3 separate regions of the Homo sapiens genome follow, and regions 1 and 2 are each linked to region 3. The links are contacts of gene promoters, found by promoter capture Hi-C in blood cells and fetal thymus (Javierre and others, 2016). All regions are on one chromosome and are shown on one strand. The core of a region is centred on a gene start or on the middle of the fragment in contact, and the rest is flanking DNA. Distances in the headings are between cores, read along the strand shown.

Region 1 (4,739 bases), core at 412-2,911, 360 kb after region 3:
TTTTATGTCATTTTCCTTCCTAATGAGAATAAATATGAAAATCTAAGGAAATGGCTTTGCTGTTCCTCTGAAAACATATCTTCACACTGACTCACCCAATTGATTCCAATTCTCACTGAGGGAATGAACTCTGAAAACATTTCTACTCACTGTAACTATGAATTTCCTAAAGAACAGGGACCATAGAGTAACTGCTACCCAACGAAAACCTTTAATAACTGCTAAAAAAAAAATTACCTGCTAAAAAAATTTACCAGGTTTCGATGTGAGGGGAATATAATAGAATGCAATAATTATTTTCATGTATATATTGCATAGTTATTTTAAGAGTTTATTGTTTAGGAAATTCATTTTAGTTTGATAGAAGGTAATCATATATATAAGTCCATTACCAACATGTATAAGCAAATTCATTTTTTAAGAAAAAATATTTACAATACTCCCAAATTTACAGATGGGAAAATGCAGATCAGGAGAGGGAAGGGTTTGTACAAGTCACACTGCTAGGAAATAGCAAAGCCAGACCTAGGCCAGGAGTGGTGAAGAAACAGAAACCTTAGATTTGTCTTTGCATTGCATCCTGCTATGGATAGGGCACCTTTCCTCATCTGCTGTCTTTCCCTTCTTCTCTTGCTTTGCCACTTTATCTGTTAGCACCCCTATCCTAGCCCTATAGGCTTCCCTCCTAGGTCTACACTTAACATTGCTCTGTCATAACTCGAGTTCCTCCAGGGTTGGTTTCTTTTGACCTTCAAACTGCTTGTCAGGGAAACCAGCAGCCACAAATTTTCCTTCCTTCTGGCTTCATGTTATCACACACAGACAAATGTAAATGTAAATGCTACATAGTCTGATTGTTGGCCTAAATCGGCATGCAGCTTCAGAGATCTTCAACTGGGTGACAGTTGACAAAGACAGGTGTAGAGAGTTTGCTCTGACCTATGTGGTCTTCTATAAGCATGTGGATTTGAGGTCTGAAGGAACAGTCCTTGGAGCCCACCCACATTGCTATATTTTTAGTACCAGTCATGAAAACTTTCAAGCAATCTGCAACATCAGTCATTGTTCTCTGAAGGATACAGCGGGAAAACCACCTAAAGTTAAAAAAAAAAATAAAAGTAAAATTCAACTTCAATTTTTCTACCATAAATATTCATTAATATTAAATTAAGAAACAGAGATTATGAGTAAAAATCAATGTTCGCAATTTTGTATGTGTTATGTGTTCACAATTATATCAAAGAGACCCTTTACCCAAAAAGAATTTATTGAGAACAGAAGCTAAACATAGTGTTGGCATCAGCCATATCGAGCTTCAAATCCTAGTCAATATACTCACCAGCTGTGTAACTTTGCTATGTGAACCTAAGTCTCAGTTTCCTCATCTGTACCAAGGAGATTTACAAGGTAAGTAGATTAGTTACTACCTCATAGGGTTGTGGTAAAAATTAAATCACATGATATTTGTAAAATATTTAGCATAGTACTTTGCATATAGTAAAGAGTAATAGAGGCCACTATTATTGTTATAAATTAATGTACTAATTTAGCAATAGAGCTTCTACTGTCAAAATATTCAAAGATTTCTGAAGCATAAACTTTCATTTCTATAGGTGATCCTTTTGGATTAGAAATCTTAACATTATTGTGTAGATTTCAGAAACAAGTTCTCTTACTACCACCATTAATTAACTTAAAGCACTTGGAAATGAAGATCATGACTTTGTGTTAGGTATGTTCCAGCATTATTATACCTCTCTAAATATATGCAACAACAGTAATACAGCTACATGTGGTGGCGCGTGCCTATAGTCACAGCTACTTGGGAGGCTGAGGTAGGAGGACTGCTTGAGCCCATGAGTTCAAGGCTGTATTGTGCTATCACTGTGCCTGTGAATAGCCACTGCACTCCAGCCTGGGCAACAAAGCAAGACCCCATCTCTAAACATTTTGTTTTTTTGTAAAAAACAACAACAAAACAAAAAAAACAGAACACAATTAGGAATGCTGCCAACAAACTAGAAGTCCTGAGTGATATTAGCAAGGTGGAAGAATAGGAGCTTTCTACCATCATTTCCCTTCCAGAAGCATCAATTTTGACAATTACCCATGGATGAGACTAACTCCAATGGTGACGTTCCAGCACATCACTGGAGTAAAACATCAGAGAATGGATGCATTAAAGAGGGTAACACAAAGAGATTCACTTTACCTGCATTGCTCCTCCCCTACGGAGGGCACAGCTCAGTGCCATGACAGATCACATCAGCCCATGATTTCTCTTACAGGGTGAAAATTAGAGTGTAGTGAGTGAGTACCCAGCTCCCTCACCCATTCAGGATACTGCCTAGGATGCCCACTTTTTTCTTGCCTCAACCAGAACAACAAGATTATCAGCACAGCTGGGAGGTTAGGAGAGTCTGGGGGCAGGAAAGAGTGGCTGCAAACCCTACTGACTGCTCTATGAGCTTCATCAAGAGGCCCTCCTGTGGGTTTCTTAGGATACCTTGCCTATGGAGCACCTCAACTGACTCACAGGCACCCCAAATGCTACATGTATCTCACCACCACCCCTGACCAGGCTGGCTCCCCAACCACATTTGTTCAGATGTTGAGTGCAAGCATTTCACACAAACAGATAGCTTGACTCTTCAGGATTTGGAGAAGGTACACAAAATGAGCATTTCAGGGCACCACCCTAGGGAAAACAGATGAGAGCCTCTTGACAGCTGGCCTGGCTTTGTGGGATTGAGAAAGTGCATGCAATTTTAAGGATCCCCCCACCAAGTGAGAACCAGAAGTGTGGAGTGGGCACATGAATAGAAAACGTGTAAGAGAGCCTCAGAATCCCTAGCTGGGCTGACTGTTAAAGGTTTTTCTCTCCCAAAGATAGCCAATAAAGACTGGAAGAAATGACTGATTCTTCAAATGCAAAGACAGCAATGCAAAACTTCAAGAAACATGAAAAATCAGGAACTGACCGGGTGCAGTGGTTCATGCCTGTAACCCCAGCACTTTTAGAGGCCGAGGAGGGAGGATCACCTGAAGTCAGGAGTTCAAGACCAGCCTGCCCAACATGGTGAAACCCTGACTCTACTAAAAATACACAAAATTAGCTGGGCATGGTGGCAGGCACCTGTAATGCCAGCTACTAGGGAGGCTGAGGCAGGAGAATCAGTTGAACCTGGGAGGCAGAGGTTTCAGTGAGCTGAGATCGCACCACCACACTCCAGCCTGCGTGACAAGAGCGAAACTCTATCTCAAAAAGGAAAAAAAAAAAAAAAAAGAAAAGAAAAATCAGGAACTATGACACAACCAAGGGAACACAATAATATTCCAGTAATTGACCTCAAAGAAATGGAGATTTGTGAATTGCCTGAGAAAGGATTCAAAATAATTGTTTAAGGAAGCTCAGCAAGCTACAAGGGAATGCAGACAGACCACTCAATGACATTAAAAAAAAAATACAGAAACAAAACAATAACTTCAATATAGAGATAGAAACAATTAAAAAAGAACCAAGCAAGCTGGGCCTGGTGGTTCACACCTATAATCCCAGCACTTTGGGAGGCTGAGGCAGGTGGATCAGGAGGTTAGGAGTTTGAGACTAGCCTGACCAACACAGTGAAACCCCCTCTCTACTAAAAATAAAAAAAATTAGCTGGACATTGTGGCAGGTGCCTATAATCTCAGCTACTTGGGAGGCTGAGGCAGGAGAATCACTTGAACCCAGGAGGCGGAGGTTGCAGAGAGCCAAGATTGTGCCACTGCACTCCAGCCCTGGGTGAGTGTGAGACTCCATCTCAAAGAACCAAGCAGAAATTCTGGAGCTGAAGAATACAATTAAATAAAAGCAATAGAAAATATCAATAGCAGACTTGATCAGGTAGAAGAATCTGTGAATTTGAAGATAGGTCATTTGAAAATACACAAAGGAGAAAAAATAAAAGGATGGAAGAAAGCCTATGGAGTTTTTGGGATACCATAAAGAGGGCTAACATTTGCATTACGAAAGTTTCAAAAGGAGAACAGAGATAGGTGGAAAGCTTATTTCAAGAAATAATGGCTAAAATGTTCTTGAATCTGGAAAGAGATAGGAACATCCAGGTACACGTAGCTCAAAAGTTCTGAAGCAGGTTCAACCCAAAGAAGAATTCACCAAGACATATTACAATCAAACTGTCAAAAATCAAAGACAGAGAATGTTGAAAGCAGCAAGAAGAGAGGCTTATTACATACAAAGGAACCCTCATAGGCTATCAGCAGATTTCTCAGCAGAAACCTTACAGGCCAGGAGAATGAGATGATATATTCCAAGTTTTGAAAGAAAAAACTACTGATCTATCAAGAATACTTTTCCTTGAAAAGCTGTCCTTCAGAAATGAAAAAGAGATAAAGAAGTTTTCAAACAACAAACTGAGGAAGTTCATCACCATTAGACCTGCCATATAAGAAATAACAAAGGGAGTTCTTCAAGCTGAAATGAAAGGATGTAATAAGTAACATAAAAACATATAAAAGCATAAAACTCACTAATATAGGTAAGTATATCATCAAATTCAAAATACTCTAATACTGTAATAGTTGTTTATAAACTACTTATAACTCTAGTTGTAGGGATAAAAGATCAAAGTATTTTAAAATATAGCTACATAAGAAAATAACAATACAATTAATAAAAACAGCTACACAATATAATTAATGCATATATACACAATATAAGAAGATGCAAATCATGA
Region 2 (4,762 bases), core at 1,802-4,301, 480 kb after region 3:
TCTAGGGTGACTGGGTTACGTAGGATGGCTTGAAAGAGATAAGCCTTGGTGGACATCTTAAAAATTTAACTGAAGTAAAGAGCAACTGGTTTAGTTCCCTTCCCCTGGAGTGTTGTGGTGTTGAGAAGACAAAACTTTGGGAACAATCACAGGGGGGCTAGATAGACAATGCAAAATTGCTGCTGGAGAGACTGAGTGAGTAGATGTTAAATAACTAAGTGCGTGCTGGATGAATAATGTTCTGGATCCAAGAAAGACATACACAGGTAAAAAATGAATTCATGCCTTTTGTGTTGTTCAAAACTTGTACTTTATTTTTCTCAAATATTTTTACTTATGCTTTTTGTCATTATCCACAGTGTTTTTTTTTTAAAGCCTGAGCCACTTTGTGGTTTTAGCCTCAATATAATAATCATCCCCTTACTCTTAGACTAATTCCTTTTCCCCTGTCACTTTGCCTGTATACTCTGTAAAAATGAGGACCTTAGAAAATCAACATTTCCTGTGAACTTGAGAGACTATACAAGCAGTGCCCAAATCAGTAGGATTAGGCAGGTAAAACCAGTTGGATAGCAGATATATTATGATCTGTTGGACAAAGGTATAGTTGTGTGCATGTCTACAAGGTCATCGTGATTCGCCATTAGCTTAAGGATCATGTAGGTTGACCAGGGTGAGGTAGGACTATCCACAGGATTGTGTAAATTGTGGTAGGGGATGCAGTATACAATATTCATGAATTAAACACTTAGCTAACTGCTTTCCTGAAAATGGTCTGTGTTCTAAAAGACAAAGATCTAGGTTTTTTGCTGTTTTTTACTTTAACTTATGAAGATTCAAGTCACTAATATGTTACTTGCTCTGGTTTAAAATGAAAGCAACTGGCTATGGTAAGGTAGAGAAGACAGCTGAATTGTATCAGAATATTTAAGACTTTTAAATTAAGTTCTGAGTTACCTCACCTTATAAAAATATATGTCAATATACTAAATACCCAACAAAGATCCAGGATGTGGGATATTTAAAAATACATTTCTCTTGTATCAGCACCAAAAATACCAGTTTCTGTACAACCCGTGTCAAGTTTTTAAGTATACACACATTAAAATTATTTCTGATAAAAAAATCACAAACTCCACAGAAATAATTAAAGATATATGCAAATTACTTTCAAATACATTTTGACATCAAAGTCAGGCAATTCACTTGGAAGAATGTTATAATGAATGTCACTGAATTTTTGTAGTAAGATGTTTGACGTCAACTTTGATTATGGGAATACATCTCACACACAGGAGGCACTGGTATTTAGAAACTTAGGAAAATTACTAGAATTGTTAAGACTGAGGTGAAGAATTTGTACAGCCTTCCACAATTTCAAAGAGGTAGTGATAGATACTTGTCCTCCTGGCAATATCAAATGCAGTTTCTTCCAAGTTGTTTTTCAGCCCTGGTTTGACGTAACGGTTCATCAGGAGGAGTTCTAGGGTATCCTTGCTGTCTCTGTTCCCAGCAGCAAGATGCAAGGGGGTCAAGAGGCCTTTTGTTTGGGCATTGATATCTGCATCATGCTGCAGTAAGAAAGAAGCCACTCTGGTATTATTCCACTTACAAGCACTGTGCAGGGGCGTCCAGCCATCCACAGTCACTGCATGAACATCGGCCCCCTGTGCAATGAGCTCCTGAACAATATCTAAGTGTCCACTGTAGGCTGCTCGATGAAGAGGGGTATACTCATCTTCATCCCTAGTGTTCACGTGAGTGGCCTTTTCAGAAAGGAGTCTCCGCACTGTGGTAAGCTGAGAAGAAAAAAAAGAAATCTTTCAACTCAACTCAAACCAAAACAATAACTAAAACAAAATTGTCTTGTGGTGTTAGATTTAATTAAGTTGAATAAAAACTTACTTGTTAGTAGATGACTTTAAAATGAAAATAATTTAAGATCTCTTTTTGGGGAGGAGAGGACTACTGATTTAAGAATGAACAAGTTAGTGTTAACTACACTTTGTTGCTTCTAAGAATGAGATTCTCTGAATATCAAACCATACATTTACTCCTGGTCCAACTAAGGTTTATTGCATAAAAGCTTCAGTCCAATGAATAACATAGGCTTTCTGTTTAATATTTTATGTGTTATCTGTGAAGAAAACATAACTGCTTGATTTTTCTGTAGGATTATCACACCAATATACACACTGTATGAAACTTTTAAAAATAAAACTTTTAACAGAAGAATAAAGTATTAATAAGGAATTCTAGGGATTCAAGAGCTCAATTCCTTCTCAATACAACCTTAGAAACAACCTTTTAGGTTGTAATTTTCAGTTTGTTCTATGGGCCTCTGGTTAAATGTGGCATGCTCTTGGGTTAAAAAGCTATTTAAAATGCGAGACCCTTTTAGTTATTAGTTTACTAACACAGACATGGGGAAACTTAGTAAAATGAGGTGGAAGTGGCCAAGCAGAGGGAATAGGCTTTTGATGTTCATTCCACTTCGATGATCCTGGGCAAATTAATATTCCTGAATCTCAATTTCTTACTCTATAAAAGAGAAGAATATTACTTATAGGGATACATGATGATTAAATAAAATAATGTAATAAGGTACCTGGTATAGTTAGTTTTTAATAAATGTTAGTTTCCATCCTCTCTTTCCTAAATGATCCTAATGACTTTATATAAATGATTTTAAAATATAGATGATTGCTTGCTATCTTTATAGATAATTATCCTTAAACCCCCAAATAATACCTAGCATGACACTTTGCAGCTTAATATGTGCTTTCATGTACATTGTCTCATTTGGTCCTCACAATCAAGAGATAGGTATGATGGCCATAACAGTAAAGGCAGGTCTTCTGGCTTGAACCCAGTGCTTTTCCTACTGTCACACTTCCCTCTGTAATTTTTTTTTTTACCCGATTTTTTTCAGCAGCCCAAAGAAGCAATCTGCTTGGGTCTTTTTCCATTTTTTTTTCTTGCAATCGATACCACTCTTCATTTTTGTCATCTTGCTCCTCATCTTCATCAGAATTGCCTACCCAAAGACTTTGAGTACCAGTAGGAATAAGGTGTCCATGTGTTTCCAACAATTCAAGTTGGTTAAAGTGTTCAGAAAAATCCAAGGAATTCTCTTGGTCTGGTATTCCATCATCATTTCCTTTTTCTTTTTCCATTTTTTACTACTATTCTAAATAAAAAGCATTTCAAATGCCAGGATATAAATCTTTCTAGAGATGAATTATGACTGCTTTGTTCATCAAGATCTGAAAACACAAATACAAAAGTTATTAGTAAAACAATAATTCAGGCTTTATCAACTGCATAGATAAGTCTTGCAAACATATACAATTAAACCCTGTCTAAACTCTTGTTTTTCTCATGATATCCCTTACATACACTAAATACTGATGCTGACAGAAAACAACAAACTATGATCTAATAGTGGTCTAATGCTTCTTACTTTTGTTGTTTTCTTCTAAGTCAATTATATTATTATAACTATTATTTTTAATCTACTGGTTTAGGTATGATGGTGTTATGCTAACAGTGATGAATGCTTAAAGGTTTTGAAGTATAACTAATACAATGAAGACAGGTGCATTCAAGATTTTTATAAACTAGACACACAGATAATATAGAGCAGAAATAAAAACTTCTAATTCCTAAAAATACTATTTCGAAGAATCAGGGATTCTTGAAGATGGAATAGCCCCCAAAAGGACATCTGTTCCAATCTGTCATCGGTACATATATCTTTATCACAGCATCTACACTAATTATCCTATTTCTACTTTGATAATTTCAGGCCTAGGAAAATTCACTGCTTTAAAAAGTAGTCCTGTTTATTGATAGGCAACTATAGTTCTTAGTTGGGTCCTTGTTTTCAACTGAATTTTGGCTGTCATTCATTCCTTCATTCAACTAATATGAATAGAATGTCTGGTATGTGCCAACTTCTGGGTACTGGGATTCAATAATGAGCAAGATCCATGTCTTCACCTCAGGAAGCTTACTCTAGTGTAGGTGACTGGCAAAGACATCATGTGTCTGGCAAAGACAACATGATAAGTACTACTACAAGACCTTGTCTAGAAACCATGAGTATACAGGAGGTTCATAATTCCCCTAGTCCTAAGGGATTAAAGAAGGCTTCCTGAAGGAACTGATGTTTATTCTGCTAAGCTGCCATATTAATTTTTAAACCAATATCAGCTTAAAGGGTTACACAACATATAAACCTTAATCAATTAAAGAAAAGGAGAATAACCAATAGATAATTTACAAATACGAATTCCCAGCCTCTCAACTCTATTTGTTGAAATATAATCAGTCTTTCAAGGCTCTTCTCTGATGTTATCTCTTTCATTCTTTCTTGATCCTCTCATTTAGATCGCTTTCTGCTTTCTACTTTTTTTGGTGCTACATTTCACCTCTAACTTTGTTCTTGTTTTAGCCCCTTAAAAGATTATAAGCTGAAAGATAAGGACCACATTTAACTTATATTTATCTCCTACTTGTCTATAGAAGGCATTAAGAAGTATGTGTAGCATTACATTTAATTAAAGTCTTGTCACTTGATTTTGCCTGGAATGGATTCTGAGAAGTTCCAGAGTTAGGCATAACCCCAAGATACTGATTTCTTGATACCTAATCTCACAAGTTTAACAGTATACAATCTTAATGTGGTATTAAACTTTATTACTAGTGGCAATAGCACTAAACTCAAGTTTAAATGTATTACTCATGTCCAGTAACTTTT
Region 3 (4,542 bases), core at 676-3,175:
TACACGTGAGGAAACTGAAAGCACAGAAAGGGAAAATGACTTGCCTAAGGTTATAGAGCTAGGAAAGGGCAGAACTGGAATTTAGAACAAAAATGGGCAGGCTGAAGATCCTTTTCTCTTAATGACCTTCGCATGCTGTCTCCTGAGAGACATGGAAATAAAAAATGAATAGAATAGACTCTGGTAATGTTTAGTGGTATGAAAAATGAAACAGGGTGATGTGATGGTGTACAAACACAAGTGTTGGAGGGGTGGGGGTAGGAAAACCTCACTGTGATACCTGAGACATGAAGGATGGTGATACAGTTACTTTGGGGCACAGGCAACAGAGAAAAGCTAGTGCAAAGGCCCTAAAATAGAAGGAATCTTGCCCTGTTTTATAAAACAGAAATGCCCACTTGGCTGTGTCTAGAGCTTAGTGCGTAAGCGAGTGACTGATTGGAAGTGAAGTCTGGAAGGTAGGCAGGAACCAGACTCCGTGGGGTCTCAGGTCACATTAAGAAATGTGATTTTTATTCTAAGTGCAGTGAAATTGTACACAGGATAGTAACACCATTTTATTAATTTTAAAAGATCACTCTCTTGGCTATATGCAACACTGACTGTAGGATAAAAGATGACGCAGGAAGATATAATAGGAAGCAATTACAATCCAGGTAGGAGATGGTGTTGGCAAAGGCAAGGGTAGTGGCAGTAGAATAAAATTGCGGGTGAGTTTTAAAAGTAGAATTGTTAAGACCTGTAAATGAACCGTATGTGAAGAGTGAATGAAAAGGAATTTAAGTAGGCACTCCGGGATTTTGGTTTGAGTAACTAGCATGATGATCGCGTCTTTTAGTGAGACTTGTTAAGACTGGAGGAGGGATACCTTCGGTAAGAAAAATCAGGATTTTCATCTTGAACTCTATGACTGAAAGGGCTTTTTCTGCTTTTCTTTCTTCATTAAAAAGTTGCAAAGAATTTAGGGGTAAGAAAGCATTTAAATATTCAATTTTGTGAGTTCCTTACATTTTAAACTAAGTTGGGGAAGTTGAATTTTCATTTGTTTAACAAATATTAATTGAGCAGCTACTATACGTCAAGGTCTATGTGATGAGATACCAAGATGAGCTAAACAACCAAGATCTCTATTCTCAGAATTTGTTTTTATGGAAGGGAGGAGAGACGACTGGTAGGTTTTTGGTTTTCGGGTTTTCTACTTTTCGTTGTCTTATTAAAACTTAACACTTAAGTAGCCATCTTAATAATTACATCTTGTGCTCCTGGTAGTTGGGCCCACCATTGTAAACGCTCTCGTAAATACTGACATCTCCCCTCCCACTAAAACTAACGTTTTTTAAATAAGAAATTTTAGCAAACATTACGAATACAACCTTTGCTTTGAAGTGTTAATATTTTTGCAGGAATGGTACCTTTGTAAAGATCGTGGTTGCCCCGTACATATTTGTTCTTTCTTCATATCCAATTAAATGAAAACACTAGTTTTTCCGAAGCCCAACTCTCTAGGTTTGTTGGTTCTAGCTCAGGAGAAAGGATGGAAGCAGGAGTCGTTGGATTTAAACAGTTTGGTGTAATCCTTTTCCACGCTCTCTCCCGCTAGCCGGGGACGTGGTGTCGGCTACCCGGGGCTTTCCGTCCACGCAGTACCGGAATGAAGGAGTCTGGGAGGGGGTCGGGGACGGAAAAGACGGAAGAGACATTAAGTAATTGGTTCTTGAAGGTATAAAATGAGGTTTAGGGTCTACTCTAAGGCACTGATTTCAAACGCCCGCCCCCTGGGCCGCTTCGGCCCCGCCCCTTAGTGCCGTTACGCCGACTTCCACTTCGGCCACTGCGGATTGGTCGTTGCTTCCGCCCCCGAAGCGCTTGGATTTTGCTTCCGGGTCGTAGGCGCTAGCTCTGGGCGCAGAGGTTTCTGGGAGCCAAGAGTGGTAATGGCGTCTGTATGATCTTCGGAGCCTGCTGCATCGGACCTCGGCCAGTGTGAGCGGCAAGAGGATAGGAGATTATCTTTCTTATCGCGATGGGACGGGAAAGGGCAGTTGGGGTCGGAGTCGGCGGCAGAGTGCAGAGCGCGGGCGGTGGAGGCCCTGGAGCAGCGGGCTAGGGGCGGAACCGAGTGCCTGTCAGGCGCGTCTGGAGCTCTTGGGCCCGCCGAGGAGATCGCAGCGTACAGGCAGCTCGCCTACTGCGTAAAGCGAACCCCAGGTCCTCCCTTCACTACCCTTCGCACCCCTGCAGTGCTGGGCACGGGTGAAGAGGCAGCGAGTTTCTGGTTATAGCCAAAGACTAGCTCACGGGAGGCCGGAGTGATAATTCCGTGGGTGTGTGGGAAGGGGCGGCGCCCCCAGCGCCAGATAACCCTGTTTTCTTCTTTGTATACATGTCTCTACCCTTTTTGAAAGTTGAGAGAATTAGCATCGCCCCCCCCCCAAAAAATCCTCCCAATTCGCCCACCCTCCCCACACACTTGCTTTTCCGACACTAACAGGGTTTTAGTGACTGCATCTGCTGCACAGTATTCTTGTGACTGCTCCAAGCAGAAAGTAACTTGAGGAATGAGTCCCTGATTTTTGGCATCAGAATCCTCTGGGGGTGAGGTTCCTGTTTTTTTTGAACAGGCCTTAAATTATAACCCACAAACGATCTAATTTATAGTATGATGCCTGTTGTAGGAGAAAATTGGCTCAACAAACGGTTGTTTAAGAATTTTTTTCTGTGTAACTGTCATTGAAGTTTAACACACTTTTCTCTGGGACATTTAGTAACTTTGTCAGTGATATTTTTTGTTTGTTTTTAGCTTTTGTTTCTACTAGCCTATTTGCTATTGTGTGAAGTTTAGATAAAATGCAAACCTTACAGAGTCTGGTAGAGTAAGGTTGAGTTGGAAATTTTTAAAACTCAGTCATGGCAGTACTGTATTTTACTAGGGTTTTGACATGTCAAGTGTCATAATTCTTATAATCTATGAGGAATATCTCCATTCCACAGATGACAAAGTTAAGCCAGGTGACTTGCTCAAGCCCATATAGTCAGAAGGAGAATAGGGATGCAAACTCAGATCTTCATGACAGAATTTTTTGTACTAAGGCAAGCCTGAGAAGCCATATTCCTTGTACAGCCTAAGCCTCATAATTTGTTTTCTTGAAAACTTTTGTTTAAGAAGATTAAGCAGGTTTTGGGGAATGAGTTTTAGAACTTATTTTACCAGTATGGATATTGATTAATACTCTATAAAATGAGTGTTTGTAATGTTGGAAATAACTTGATTATATTTTTCTTCAAAGCATAAAAGATGACAACAGCAGCCAGGCCAACCTTTGAACCTGCCAGAGGTGGAAGGGGAAAAGGAGAAGGTGATTTGAGCCAACTTTCAAAGCAGTATTCAAGCAGAGACCTACCCTCTCATACAAAGATAAAATACAGGTAGTAAGACTTTCTTTTTTTATTGTTCACAAAACAAGACCAGATCTGTTAAATGGCATGGTCATGATATAGTAGTATGTTTGAGTTATGTCACTTATCTATTTTCATAGGAATAGAATGCAATAGGATGTTTAACACTAAAATTCTGCTGTGATTTTAAAATGTGAAATTCCTACTAACCAGGAATTTTCATATGTAGATAGAACAATAAATAATAGAAATAATAATGCCTCAGAGTATGCACTATGAGCACCAGTCAGTATATTAAAAGTATTACTGTTAAGTTCTGAGTTGATATAATCCTAATAAAAATTAAAGACATTTTAATCACTGTAAAGCCTTATTATAGGAAAATATGTGATTGAATTTGGACTTCTTGAAATATTGGGAACATCACAAGAGTGGCTGTTAGTAACCTTCAGATTAAATTATGATCTTGTCTACTTCCCTTTTTTCTGCTTGAAGGACAAAGTCTCATTCCTGAATTGTCTTCCATTACTACAGTCTCTGTGTGTGTGTGTGTGTGTGTTTAAGTAACATTTTTGCCCTGGTTTGTTTCTACTTTAGACAGACTACTCAGGATGCCCCTGAAGAGGTTCGTAACCGTGACTTCAGGAGAGAGTTGGAAGAAAGAGAGAGAGCTGCTGCAAGAGAGAAAAATAGGGATCGTCCAACCCGAGGTACCAACACTATCCAAGACATTTGTCTCATAAAATTATGTTGTTGATAGTTTTTCTTTATGTAGCAATTGGAAAATGTTAACCATTTGTTTACTTTTACAGATTGATGTGAGCTGTACTACTTTCTTAGGTCATTAGAGATAATAACAACAAATATTTACCAAAGGCTTATTTGCCCAGGCACTGTGGATGTGAGTTCACTGTGGATAATGCTTTTAATGTGGGCTCCTTGTGCTCACAGGTCCCTAAAACATTTTAAGAAATGAAGTATTTGTTTTACTAAGTTAAATGATTTTTGTTTCCCCCCAGAACATACAACCTCCTCTTCAGTGTCAAAAAAGCCACGGTTAGACCAGATTCCTGCCGCCAACCTTGATGCAGATGACCCTCTAACAGATGTATGTTTTGTTTCCTCCTTTCATCTCTAATAATTGAT

The links. The method cuts DNA at HindIII sites, captures the fragments that hold promoters and counts their contacts. A CHiCAGO score of 5 or more calls a contact.
Region 1: a fragment that was not itself captured here is called in contact with the fragment with the promoter of CWC15 in region 3 in 1 of 17 cell types (megakaryocytes); the score reaches 7.0 in megakaryocytes.
Region 2: a fragment that was not itself captured here is called in contact with the fragment with the promoter of CWC15 in region 3 in 4 of 17 cell types (total CD8 T cells, neutrophils, fetal thymus and 1 more); the score reaches 6.0 in total CD8 T cells.

What each region holds. Positions count from the first base shown.
Region 1 is chr11:94,612,848-94,617,586 of GRCh38, reverse strand. It overlaps PIWIL4 (piwi like RNA-mediated gene silencing 4), which reads right to left. Exons shown (of 20, transcript NM_152431.3): 16 at 1,024-1,094. The region is part of intron 4 of PIWIL4-AS1 (PIWIL4 antisense RNA 1); the gene reads left to right. Among named protein-coding and RNA genes, the nearest start is that of LINC02700, 23 kb to the left of the region's middle. The HindIII fragment of the contact is 4,774 bases long and covers 1-4,048 here.
Region 2 is chr11:94,495,108-94,499,869 of GRCh38, reverse strand. It overlaps ANKRD49 (ankyrin repeat domain 49), which reads right to left. Exons shown (of 3, transcript NM_017704.3): 2 at 2,919-3,266; 3 at 292-1,799. The coding sequence starts at 3,176. The coding sequence ends at 1,338. It also overlaps a transcript of MRE11 not described here. Among named protein-coding and RNA genes, the nearest start is that of ANKRD49, 3.5 kb to the right of the region's middle. The HindIII fragment of the contact is 1,925 bases long and covers 2,089-4,013 here.
Region 3 is chr11:94,970,939-94,975,480 of GRCh38, reverse strand. It overlaps CWC15 (CWC15 spliceosome associated protein), which reads left to right and starts at 1,925. Exons shown (of 7, transcript NM_016403.4): 1 at 1,925-1,983; 2 at 3,288-3,426; 3 at 3,994-4,106; 4 at 4,416-4,504. The coding sequence starts at 3,296. KDM4D (lysine demethylase 4D) reads right to left here and starts at 1,772. Exons shown (of 3, transcript NM_018039.3): 1 at 1,413-1,772. RefSeq lists enhancers at 1,519-1,668, 1,989-2,158, 1,873-2,648. The HindIII fragment of the contact is 9,854 bases long and covers 1-4,542 here.